Regions from separate parts of the Homo sapiens genome. Here all the other regions are linked to region 1. The links are contacts of gene promoters, found by promoter capture Hi-C in human tissues and cell types (Jung and others, 2019). All regions are on one chromosome and are shown on one strand. Each heading gives the region's core, a stretch centred on a gene start or on the middle of the fragment in contact. The rest is flanking DNA. Distances are from core to core; before and after follow the strand shown. Region 1 holds the start of CASZ1 (castor zinc finger 1). Region 2 overlaps CENPS-CORT (CENPS-CORT readthrough). Region 3 overlaps PEX14 (peroxisomal biogenesis factor 14).

Region 1 (3,988 bases), core at 515-3,014:
CCGCCCGCCCGCCCGCGCCCGGCCAGCCCCCGCCAGCGGCCCCAGCGCGCCTCTGCCCGCACCTCGCCACCCCGGCGGCCGCCCCCTCCCCTTCCAGACCCGGCTGCCCGGCCCGCCAGCTCCCGGCAGTGCTGGCTTCGGAAAGAGAGAGAAAGAACAGAAAGCAAAACTTCCTGGCGGCCGACGGCCATCAGCTGCACATTCTGCAAATGCCACCGAGTAAAAATAAACCGGCCGCCGCTCCGCCCGTCCGGCTCACCCCGGGCGCACGAATCGGCCCCCTGCCCCGGGAGATCCCTGACTCGGTCTGGCCCGATCCCCCATTCCCGCGCGCCCCCTGGATCCCCGCTCCCCGACGCTCCTCCGTCAGTCACCACGCTCTCCTTTGCCGTTAAGCCGGACCCTAAGTGACCGGGAAACCGGCTCTCTCCCTTTGGTGTTCCCTGCGCCCCCACAAACTACTTTTTTCTCTGTCCTTCACCAGGTGCCTATTTCAGCCCTGTGCCCTTGGATTCAGGGCTCCTCCTCCCCAATTGTTGAGCTCCGAGGTCACCCTCAGCCCACCCTGGGGGAACAGACCCCGACCGACCCTCTCCCACGCTGCAGAGCCCCCCCGGAGCGCACCACTCTACCAGCCCGCTAGCCCGCCAGCCCAGCGTCCCACGTCCCCGGGCGCAACTTCTCTTCTGGCGCACACAACAGCCGGCAACAACTCGCCCGAACTTTCCCCGGGACCCAGGCGGGCTCCAGCCGACAGCCGGGCAGCTCTGGGCCGATGCCCCGGCTCCCCGTGCCCTGTGTTGCCAGCCCTTCAGCTGGGGAGGCAGGGGGTGGGGTGGGGAAGGGAGTGAGGAACGCCACTTGCCGCGCCTGGAGCAGCGCACTTGAGATAAACTTCCCAGGCACAGATGAAAAAGGGGGCGCCGCTCCCCCCATCTAAGAAATCTCTTGCCTTCGATTTCCTATGGGGGATACCCTTTGGCACCCCGCGCCTAAGCGAACACTGCCTACCTCTGCTGGCAGCACCTACACCCGGTATCCGGGCACAAGAGCCGGCTGGAGGGGTTCCCCACCCACCCCTTCCCATGGGCAAAGTCTTGCAAAGTCACCCCAGGCACCCCTCACCCCGCCTCCTTCTCTGCCCTGGAGAGCGCACGACCCCTCTGCTGCTGGGGGGTGGGGTGGGGTGGGGGTTTAAGGGGAAGGAGTGATTACCCGGTATTGGAGATCACCTGCCCCCCCGGGAGCCCACAGCGCGTGGGGCGCCCCCACCCTATTTGCAAAGTCCTGTGCTCGCGCCTGGCACCTCCCTCTCTTCTCCCCTACCCCGCCACCCCCTCAGTTGGAGTAAGCGACCCCCAGGAGGAGCAGCCCTCCCCTCCCCCGGAGCCGCGCGCCGGGCATTCCCCTGGCCACGGCAGGCAACGCGCCGCCCCGCGCCCGGGTGCCAGCCCTCCGTGCCCCCTGCCTCCGCACGGCCGGAGTTGGGTGGCAGCCGCCGATCGCAGGCTGGCTGGCTGGCTCGCTCGCTCGCTCGCTCGCCCGCTCCCTGCTGCAAGCGGCAGCCCCGGGGGTGGGGGGGGTGCACCGGGACAGGGGGAGAGACGGGGAGGCGCCCCGGGAGGCCCGCGGAGCTGGGGGACGTGGGGGGGCCGCGGCGGAGGGAGCGCCGAGTCTCTTACCTGCACTTGGGGCGGCTTTGGGTGACTTTCCAAGTCCGGGGGAAAAATGTGTGTGTGTTTGGGATGGAGCGCCGCGGGCGCGCATGCGCTGCCCAAAGTTGCCGGATCCCGGATTTTTCGCTCCCAGTCTCCGCTCTCGCCCGCTGTGATTATGGAATTCTCCGCGGCCGGGCGGGCGAGTGGGTGGCATGCAAAACCCGGGCCGGATCGCGGGGCCGGGCTCCGCTCCACCCTCACACCCCCAGACCTGCCCCTCCCGGATCCTTCCCACCCACCGCCCGGGCTGAGCTCAGCGTGTGCGCGCGGCGAGTCGCACGGCCTGCGGAGGAGCATCTGAGCGCTCGGCCCCCTTTTGCAGGTCCAGAGGCTTCTACACCCCCCCCCAGCTGAGTTGAGTTGAGGCTAGGGGAAAAGAGAGAAGGGATGGGGGGGGGGGTTACTTTCCACCTGTTCTGAACCCCGAGAGAGCCCGAGTTCGGTTCCCACTTTCGACAGAAGAACTGGCTCTTTTTTGCAAGTTAGAATGTTAGAACTGTGGAACCCAAAGGAACGAAATGTTCTCACTGTTTGATATCTGCTTTGCACTTATTCTTTGCAAGGGAGTTTTTCATTCAATCTATTGTGCAAGAAATAAATCCTTAAGTGAGCAAGATAGGCCGTGCAGAATGAACCTTACATGGAGGGGCTGGGGGGGGGGCAGATAATACACATTAAAACAAGTGGATAATGTTATTTCAGAGAGTGAAAGTATCCATGAAGAAAATAAACCAAGGCAATAGGCTAAAAAGTGTCTTGGGGGCCGGCATGGTGGTTTACGCCTGTAATCCCAGCACTTTGGGAGGCCGAGGCAGGAGCATCGGTTGAGCCCAGGAGTTCGAGACCAGCTTGGGCAACATAGCTAGACCTCATTTCTGACAAAACAAAACAAAGCAGTGTCTTGCGAGAGATAATCCCCTTGCCCCCAGATGGGGGGGAAGGGCCTTTTGAGGGGCACTTTCATACTTTATTGAAGAAACCCCCTTTTCTCCCATACCCAGACTTCCCATTTCCCAGTTGGTTTGAGGTGGCCACACCAGCTGAGCCTAGTAGTCAGCTTCAGTGCTGAGGCCCTGTAGCTCTGGTCTTGCCTTTCTCAGCAAGCGCACCCCTCATTCCAGGCCTGAGCTGCTTTTCCCTTCAGCATAAGCGTGGGATGGAAATATCGAGAGGCATGAAAGAAACTGAAAACACCCAGATGATGAGATAAGTGAGAAACTGACCATAACAGTAAACGAAATAGATCAATGATTTGTGGAATAAATGAATATAAATTCAAAGTATGACCCACAGCTTCAAGCCCTGCTCAACAGAATGCATTAAACTAAGAGGCAATGCCACAGGCTGGTAAACATTGTTGCAGGCTGGTAGTATTTGGAGCCTAATCTGCAAGGTGTCAGGAAAGCCTCTCAGGACCAGAGAAACGACCCAAAACCCTGTATGATGATTGTCTAAGACAAGCATCTTCCGGGATGCATTCCCATGTCCTGCCTTAAACTGGAAGTTAATTGTCCAGAAGCATATGGACACAGACTGGAGACATGATGGCCCTCTGGCCCTGAGGAGGCCAGGATTTGCCCTGTGCCCTAATAAAGCCAACAAATTTGGGAGAGGAAGCTGAGCCATCCCACACTCCTTAGATACTCAGTGATATTTGCTTGTGTTAGATGGACTGGGGAAGAAACCAGCTCAAAAAACCAGCTCCTCACTTCCTGGAATAGTTCTGGGGGTCCATTCAGGATCTGTCCACACAGGAAAGCCAGATTTAGACATTAGACACATGTTTCGGGTTCATTTTGTTTTCCCCCCTCCTTATCCCAATAATTGACTGGAAGCAGCAACACAACGATAATTAACATCCCTCAAAGACCACTGATTGGTTACTCTCCATTGCCGCCCCCACCATCCAAGGCATTCTCAGCTCTCAGGGGTTGAGGGCTCACCCACCATCTCTAAGACCCTTGTGCCTGGTGACTTAGCAGGATGCACAGCCCCAGAGATCTCAAGCCCAATCTTGTCATCCTACAGAAGGAGAAACTGAGGCACAGTGAGGGGCAGTAACCTGAGAAGTGGCAAGGTAGCTCTTCTACCTTATTGGCTCACGGCTGAGTCCACTCCTGGGGCAGCGTAAAGAAGGGGTTAGCAGCTTGGGCTTGGGGGTGAGACCCTACCGCTCCACCAGCTGGGTGACCTTGAGGAAGGCATTTGACCCGTCTGTGCCTCAGTTGCCTCCACAGTAAAATGGGGATAATAATAGTACCTACTGCCTG
Region 2 (3,988 bases), core at 661-3,160, 340 kb before region 1:
AAATGACCAACTTTTCTCTAATTAAAGCAATTTCTTTAAGGTATTCTCTTCACTTTCTCATCCTCATCCGTTAAATGGAAATGAGGCTTATCGCTATGGAGCATCTTTTCATTTTAATATTTTCTTTCTCTTTTCTCCAGGGTAGTCTTTTAGATCATTTTTTTTTTTAAGTAAGGAGGAGATTGCATATCTTTGAATGCTTGCTGCCTGAGCCAGATTGCTGAGTTTTCTTTCCTTTGCCATCTGCTTCTCTTTAAAAGCATATGCAGGAAGCGGCAGGAATAAGGAAAAGCAGCCTCCTGACTTTCCTCGCTTGGTGGTTTGAGTGGACCTCCCAGGCCAGTGCCGGGCCCCTCATAGGAGAGGAAGCCCGGGAGGTGGCCAGGCGGCAGGAAGGCGCACCCCCCCAGCAATCTGCGCGCCGGGACAGAATGCCCTGCAGGAACTTCTTCTGGAAGACCTTCTCCTCCTGCAAATAAAACCTCACCCATGAATGCTCACGCAAGTGTAATGACAGACCTGAATAAAATGTATTAAGCAGCAGTGATCTTTCCTCTCCTCCTTCCCAAGTCATTTGAAAAGTGTTTGTTATTTAAATTCCAATAATGCCCAATACTGACGTGTCTTGAGTAATTTGGAACCCAAAGTGAAGATCTTTGATAAAGATTTTTTTGTGGTTCGACTGGACTGTGCTGAGTGCGGGCACTGGGCTTTTCTTCTGATGTTCATTATGGTGCTGGGAAGCTCTGTCTTTGATTTAAAATAAAATAGCTAAAGGCTACACAATTAAGAGTTCAGAATAACATCTTATTTCAGTTTATGAATTGATATGAATTGTCTAATTTAAAAAATATTTCCCTCACATTAAAAGCAAATTTTTAATATCAGGCTCGAAGAGCAAAATGATTATTCCTCATGTTTTAGCTGAAATTAATTTTAAAACATATTAAACAGAAAACCTGCTGACATGCCTGTGAAACTGATACTCGAACTTGCTGTTATGTACCAGTTTTAATTAGTAGCTTAATGGGTTGCAATTCTTTTCATGGATTATAGCTTCAGATTTGCTTTGGGAGGAATGAAGGCTACCCACAGAATTTTTTTTTTTTTGAGACGGAGTCTAGCTGTCACCCAGGCTGGAGTGCTATGGCGCGGTCTCAGCTCACTGCAACTTCCGCCTCCCAGGTTCATGTGATTCTCCTGCCTCAGCCTCCTGAGTAGCTGGGACTACAGCATGCGCTTCCATGCCTGGCTAATTTTTTTTTTTTTTTTTTTAGATGGAGTTTCGCTTTTGTTGCCCAGGCTGGAGTGCTATGGCACGGTCTCAGCTCACTGTGGCTTCCGCCTCCGAGGTTCAAGTGACTCTCCTGCCTCAGCCTCCCAAGTAGCTGGGACTACAGGCACACACCACCACGCCTGGCTAATTTTTGTATTTTTAGTAGAGACGGGGTTTCTCCATGTTGGTCAGGCTGGTCTCGAACTCCTGGCTTCAGGTGATCCACCTGCCTTGGCCTCAGAAAGTGCTGGGATTACCAGCGTGAGCCACTGCGCCTGGCCATGAAGGTTTTTCGATGCTAAACTTCATTGGGAAAACCAGCAAAGGCTGGCTGGAGGACACGGGAATATTCTCTTCTCTGGACACCAGGGGAGCGGACTCCCTGAGAATGGCTGCTGACCGTCCGTTGTTTTCTGCCGAGCTGAGCTCATATTCATAATTACTAGCTGAATAAAGTATAATGTGATGGAAGAGACTTAATAGCATCCACGTTTCCAAACACAGCAGCTTTAGGAGACCAGGAATTGGGTCAGTGCACTGGTGGAAGATGCCTGCCTGAAAGGCCAGCTAACCTTCCAGAACTTTGTTTTTTTTAAAGATTTTTTCTAGAAAGAAGCCATGCTTATTGTTTTTCAGTTTTTAAATTGGGGTCGGCAGGGCGCGGTGGCTCATGCCTGTAATCCCAGCACTGTGGGAGGTTGAGGCAGGCAGATCACTTGAGGCCAGGAGTTCGAGACCAGCCTGGCCAACATGATGAAACCCTGTCTCGACTAAAAATACAAAAATTACCCAGGCGTGATGGTGCACCCCTGTAATCCCAGCTACTTGGGAGGCTGAGGCACGAGAATCACTTGAGCCTGGGAGGCGGAAGTTGTAGTGAGCCGAGGTCATGCCACTGTACTCCAGCCTGGGTGACAGAACGAGACTCTGTCTCAAAAATAATAGTAAAATAAGATAAAATAGGGGCTGGGCGTGGTGGCTCACACCTGTAATCCCAGCACCTTGGGAGGCCGAGCTGGGTGGATCACCTGAGGTCGGGTGTTCAAGACCAGCCTGATCAACGTGGTGAAACCCTGTCTCTACTAAAAACACCAAAAATTAGCCGGGCTTGGTGGCACATACCTGTAATCCCAGCTACTCAGGAGGCTGAGGCAGGAGAATCACCTTAACCCGGGAGGCAGAGATTGCAGTGAGCCAAGATTGTGCCACTGCACTCCAGCCTGGGCGACAGAGTGAGACTCCGTCTCAAAAAATAAAATACATTGGGGTCATCCACACAGACTTTAAGATTGGGGATTTTACCTTTTAACTAAGTAGTTATCTGTAGGATAATGAGGCTCTACTAGTGCTACTGCCAGGAAATTCAAGTCTAAGCCTACCTTAGTTCAGGGGACTTCATACGACATTAACTGGCATCAGCTGCATGTTAGACCAGATGAATATGCTTGTGATTAATAAATCAGGGTAAAATGGTCATTTCCCACCATCTGGTTTTTGGTGGCCTTTTCTGTAGTTCAGTAGAGTCAGGTGTGTAGATCTGGGTAATCAGGCCCTGGGCAACTTCAAGTTCATGCTCTTGTTATTTTGTCCAGGATTTGGCACCAGAACAGCTCCCTAACTGCTGAGGAGGAATGAAGGACAACAGACACTCACAGCTTTCCTATTTCAGGGCTGGCAGCAAAGGATTCCAGGCTTTAGGAAACTCCTCAGACTGGGAAGCTCAGGGGAGATACTTACCTTGATGTAAGCAGCACCTGTTGAAGGGCAGCCCGTCTTTTTTTTTTTTTTTTTTTTTTTGAGACAGAGTCTCCCTCTGCCACCCAGGCTGGAGTGCAGTGAAGTGATCTTGGCTCACTGTAAGCTCCACCTCCCGGGCTCAGGTCATTCTTCTGTCTCAGCCTCCCGAGTAGCTGGGACTACAGGCACCCGCCACCACACCCAGCTAATTTTTTCTATTTTTTTGTAGAGATGGGGTTTCACCGTGTTAGCCAGGATGGTCTCGATCTCCTGACCTTGTGATCCACCCACCTCAGCCTCCCAAAGTGCTGGGATTACAGGTATGAACCACCGCGCCTGGCCAGGGGCAGCCCATCTTAAAAACAGTAGCGTTTTCCATAGAGAGAGAGGTTTCATTTGGAATGTTTTAGGCCGTTCTTGTGCTGCTATAAAGAAATACCTGGCCAGGTGCGGTGGCTCACGCCTGTAATCCCAACACTTTGGGAGGCCGAAGCAGGCGGATCACAAGGTCAGGATTTCCAGACCAGCCTGACCAAAACGGTGAAACCCCATCTCTACTTAAAAAAAAAAAAAAAAAAAAAATCATGGCACCAGGCATCTGCTCAGTTTCTGGTGAGGCCTCAGGAAGCTTCCAATCATTACAGAAAGCCAAGTAGGACCCAGTGTATCACACAGTGAGAGCAAGAGCAAGAGAGAGACTTGGCCTGAGTAGGGGGATGCCACACACTTTTTTTTTTTTTTTTTTTTTTTGAGAGGGCGTTTCGCTCTTGTTGCCTAGGCTGGAGTGCAATGGCGATCTCGACTCACTGCAACCTCCACCTCCCGGGTTCAAGCAATTCTCCTGCCTTAGCCTCCTGAGTAGCTGGGAGTACGGCTACAGGCATGAGCCACTGTGGTACCACCCCTGGGCTATTTGTAACTTCTTTTTTTTTTTTTTTTTTTTGAGACGGAGTTTTGCTCTTGTTGCCCAGGCTG
Region 3 (3,988 bases), core at 823-3,322, 310 kb before region 1:
TTTGTGGTCTTTAAAGAGTGCTTAAAGCTTTTTTCTTCTGTGCAGTTTTTTATGGTTTACTGTTATCATTTTGAGTCCTGTTTTTTAGCTTTGTTAGAGTGGATCTGGATAATCTTTAATCTAGGGATCATTTGACCTCTGGTCTCTCCTGAATGCCCTGTGAGGACACTCCAGTCTGGCTGCTTGGGACTCATGATTCCCCTGAGAGTTCTAAGAAATGTCAGCTCCTAGCTTCTTCTTCACTGTGGAGTTTCACCCTATGCATGCACAAATTTTAGTATTCAGCAGAGACCTGAGGGAACCTCCAGACAGATTTCTGGACCACTTTTTCTGCATAGCTCTTTCTTTCTGAAGTCTGTCCTGCAGCTTTCAGCTGCCTTGGCCTCCCTGAACTCTGATCTCTGTCTCTTCAACTTAAGTGGGTGGCGTGCTCTGCTGGGGATCCCCGTCTCTCTCCAGGGCCTGAAATGTGTCTCCTGGCAGGAAGCCAGAGTGATTTTAGGGCCCAAGTAATTTGTTTCTCTGCTTTCAGGGATCGTAGTCCTGCACTGCCTGCTGTCCAATGTGTACACACAGTGGTTTTATTTATTTGGCTTAGTTTTCTAGTTGTTTACAGTGGGAGGGCAAATCTGTTCCCTATCACTCCATCATGACCCGAAGTGGAAGTGCATTGGTTGACTTTGAGCAGAGGAGTGACATGAAATAACTTATCATCTCCTCTAATCCCAAATGTGAGGTGGTGGTATTATTCCCGTTATTCCCATAGATGAGGAAACTGAGGCTCAGAGAGGTTGAGCAGCGTGCCCCCAAATCACTGAGTTCTTAATGCCAAAGCTTGTGTACTTTCTGTCATGCCACTGCATCTCAAAGGATATTGGTGGGATCGAATCTTATTCTTCCCAGCAGAGAACTACACAGACTGGCTTAGGACCTATCTGGAGTCACAGTCACCGGGCAGATGCAGGATGGGTTCTCCTATCTGAAGTCGCAGTTACTGGGCAGATGCAGGATGGGTTCTCCTAGACCTGGAGCTTTCGCCAGTTGCTCAAATCTGTGAGCTGCTTGTGAGGTTGTTCTTTGTTGGACAGCAGGTCAGGATCTGGGAACGCCTTCCAGTTGGGGAAGGTCAGCGCCTTGGCAGCAGGAGTGAGAGCACCTTTGTCTCTACCAAAAGAAAAGCATTTCTCTCTCTGCCGCCGTAGTCTTTGCCTGACTTGTTTTTTTAAAGCAGTTTTCTGCTTTTGCTTTCTTCTCTTCCTGCTCTCCCCATTCAGGCCTCTAAGGATCCTGGGCATGGATTGCCTTAGGTCCTTTTCTTACATCGTTACAATAGATGCCTGTGGGTGGTTTCTAAGCCTTTTTTTTTTTTTTTTTTTCTGAGACAGTCTTACTCTGTTACCCAGGCTGGAGTGCAGTGATGTGATCACAGCTCACCACAGCCTCAACCTCCTGGGCTCAGTTGATCCTCCCACTTCAACCTCCTGGGTAGTTGGGACTTACAGGCATGTGCCACCATGCGTGGCAAATTTTTGTATTTTTTAGTAGAGACAGGGTTTTACCATGTTGCTCAGGCTGGTCTCGAACTCCTGGGCCCAAGCGATCCTCCCACATCGGCCTCCCAAAGTGCTGGTGTGAACCACCATGCCCGGCCTTGTTTTTTTTTTTTTTTTAATCATGGACTACTCTGTGAAGATTTCCAGGATCAGTTGGAGATGAGGTTTTGCTATGTTGGCCAGGCTGGTCTTGAACTCCTGACCAGGTGATCTGCCTGCCTCGACCTCCCAAAATGCTGGGATTACAGGCGTGAGCTACTGTGCCCGGCCTGCTTCGATTGTTTAAACAGCTAGCATGGTGGAAGATTTTAAAAAAATGTTCACAGGGTAGGCCATGATTAAAAAAATAAAAAAAAGGCCAGGTGTGGTGGCTCACATTTGTATTCCCAGCTTCATACTGGGACTGTGGCTCTGGGAAGCCATGACTTGAGGAATTTGGAGTGTTGCTGTTTCAAATTCCATGGTAGGAATATGCATACACATGCACCCTTTTTTTCTTTTTGAGACAGAGTCTTGCTCTGTTGACCAAGCTGGAATACAATGGCACCATCATAGCTCACTGCAATCTCTGCCTCCTGGGATCAAGCGAGCCTCCTGAGTAGCTGGGACTATAGGATGCACCACCACACCCGGCTAATTTTTAAATTTTTTGTAGAGATGGGGTCTCGCTGTGTTGCCCAGGCTGGTCTCAAACTCCTGGCCTTAAGGGATCCTCCCATTGTACCCTCCCAGAGTGCTGTGCTGGGTTTAAGGTGTAAGCCACACTTGGCCATGCTCCTTTTTTTTTTTTTTTTTTTTTTTGGAGACAGAGTCTCACTCTGTCACCTAGATTGGAGTGCAGTGGCATGATCTCAGCTCACTGTAACCTCCGCCTCCCGGGTTCAAGCGATTATTGTGCCTCTGCCTCCCGAGTAGCTGGGACTACAGGCATGCACCACCACACCCAGCTTATTTTTGCATTTTTTTTGTAGAGACGGGGTTTCGCCATGTTGGCCAGGCTCATCTCTAACTCCCGGCCTCAAGTGATTCGCTCACCTTGGCCTCCTGAAGTGCTGGGATTACAGGCATGAGCCACTGCACCCGGCCGGCCATGCTTCTTATATGCTTTGAATATCCTTGGCAGAATATATAAGGAACCAGCGTCAGTGTGGGTCCCCTAGGGTTGGAATGAGAGGGAAGCTTTCTTTTTTACTTTTAATATTGAATTTTCTAAAACAATTCATTTACATGGCTTATAATTTAAAAGGTACTAAAGGGTTTATGATGAAAGAGACTTATTTGGCACTGTGTACTGTTTGAAGTTTTTCCCTCTGGTAAATACTAGCTATTCAAGGGATGAACTAATTTTAAGAGCAGTTCCTTGGTGGAAACAATTCATAGTGATTAGTTTTATTTTAGGAAGAAAGTTTTGGGTTAAGTCAGAATGGGGCTTCCTAAATACTAAAGCTGTTTGCTTTTGTGTGTTTTGTCTGGTCAAATAACCTACATTATTATTTATGGGGTAGCATTAAGGTTGTTGCTTAATAAAATGTGGTTTAAACAAAACTTGCTTATTTTGATTAAGTAGAAGGGTTCAAATCCCTGTAGTACCAGTTACTATCTGAGTAATCATGGGCAAGTTATTTAACCTCTTTTGCCTCAGTTTCCTCATCAGCAGTAATTTGATATACTTATTGTGAGAATTAAAGGAGGAAAGAGCTAAGTGAATGTTAGCACTTAGTATCTAGCAAATGGAGTAGAGGAAACCCTCAGGAAGATAATGAACGGAAGAATCTAAATAATCCATTCAGCTGAGTTGTTGCCATTGTTCTGTTTTTTTGTTGCCCATTCATTCATTCAGCAAATTTCTATTGAAGGCCTCCTCTGTGCCTGGCACTGTCCTAGCCCCCAGGGATACAGTGATAAGCAAACACAGGCAGTTTCTGCACACGTGGAGTTTATAATCTGGTGAGAGAGACAGGCATCAGTCCGATAGTCACACAGATGTAAAGTTGCACATCTGCTCAGGTCCTTGAAGGAGAGGCAGGTGGTGTTACCTGAATGTGTCACAGGGAGATCTGACCTAGTCATGGATGTCAGAGAAGGAATGCTTCCCTGAGGAAGTGTCTTAGCTGGATCTGAAGGATGAACTAAAGGGAAGGAAGGGCATGTGCAAAGGCGCAGTGACAGAGAAAGCAAAGGCCAGTGCGTCTGTCAGGGGGCAGAAGTGGGCAATGTGGTGCCGCTTGAGACCTGAGGTGTAGTCAGAGTAGACGTGAGGCCTTGTAGGCCACGCTGAGGTTTTTCTGTCTTCTAAGAGCAAGGAGAAGCCCTTAAATTTGTTGTGTTTACTGGGGTGAGTGGGTGGACAAGGGATGGGACGAGCAGATTCTCCTTTGGAAATGATAGTCTGTTTGCATCCCAGAATATGAATTGGAAGAGCGCCAGCACTGATG

The links. Contacts are between HindIII fragments. The study calls those that stand out against the background at their distance.
Region 2: a fragment that was not itself captured here is called in contact with the fragment with the promoter of CASZ1 in region 1 in 1 of the 25 tissues and cell types used here (pancreas).
Region 3: a fragment that was not itself captured here is called in contact with the fragment with the promoter of CASZ1 in region 1 in 5 of the 25 tissues and cell types used here (aorta, dorsolateral prefrontal cortex, mesenchymal stem cells and 2 more).

The regions. Positions count from the first base shown.
Region 1 is chr1:10,794,882-10,798,869 of GRCh38, forward strand. It overlaps CASZ1 (castor zinc finger 1), which reads right to left and starts at 1,765. Exons shown (of 21, transcript NM_001079843.3): 1 at 1,683-1,765. The HindIII fragment of the contact is 29,932 bases long and covers 1-3,988 here.
Region 2 is chr1:10,451,117-10,455,104 of GRCh38, forward strand. CENPS-CORT (CENPS-CORT readthrough) reads left to right here. Exons shown (of 4, transcript NM_199006.3): 4 at 261-1,037. The coding sequence ends at 285. It overlaps CORT (cortistatin), which reads left to right. Exons shown (of 2, transcript NM_001302.5): 2 at 261-882. The coding sequence ends at 479. Among named protein-coding and RNA genes, the nearest start is that of CORT, 3.1 kb to the left of the region's middle. The HindIII fragment of the contact is 5,212 bases long and covers 1-3,988 here.
Region 3 is chr1:10,489,344-10,493,331 of GRCh38, forward strand. The region is part of intron 1 of PEX14 (peroxisomal biogenesis factor 14); the gene reads left to right. Among named protein-coding and RNA genes, the nearest start is that of PEX14, 16 kb to the left of the region's middle. The HindIII fragment of the contact is 3,285 bases long and covers 431-3,715 here.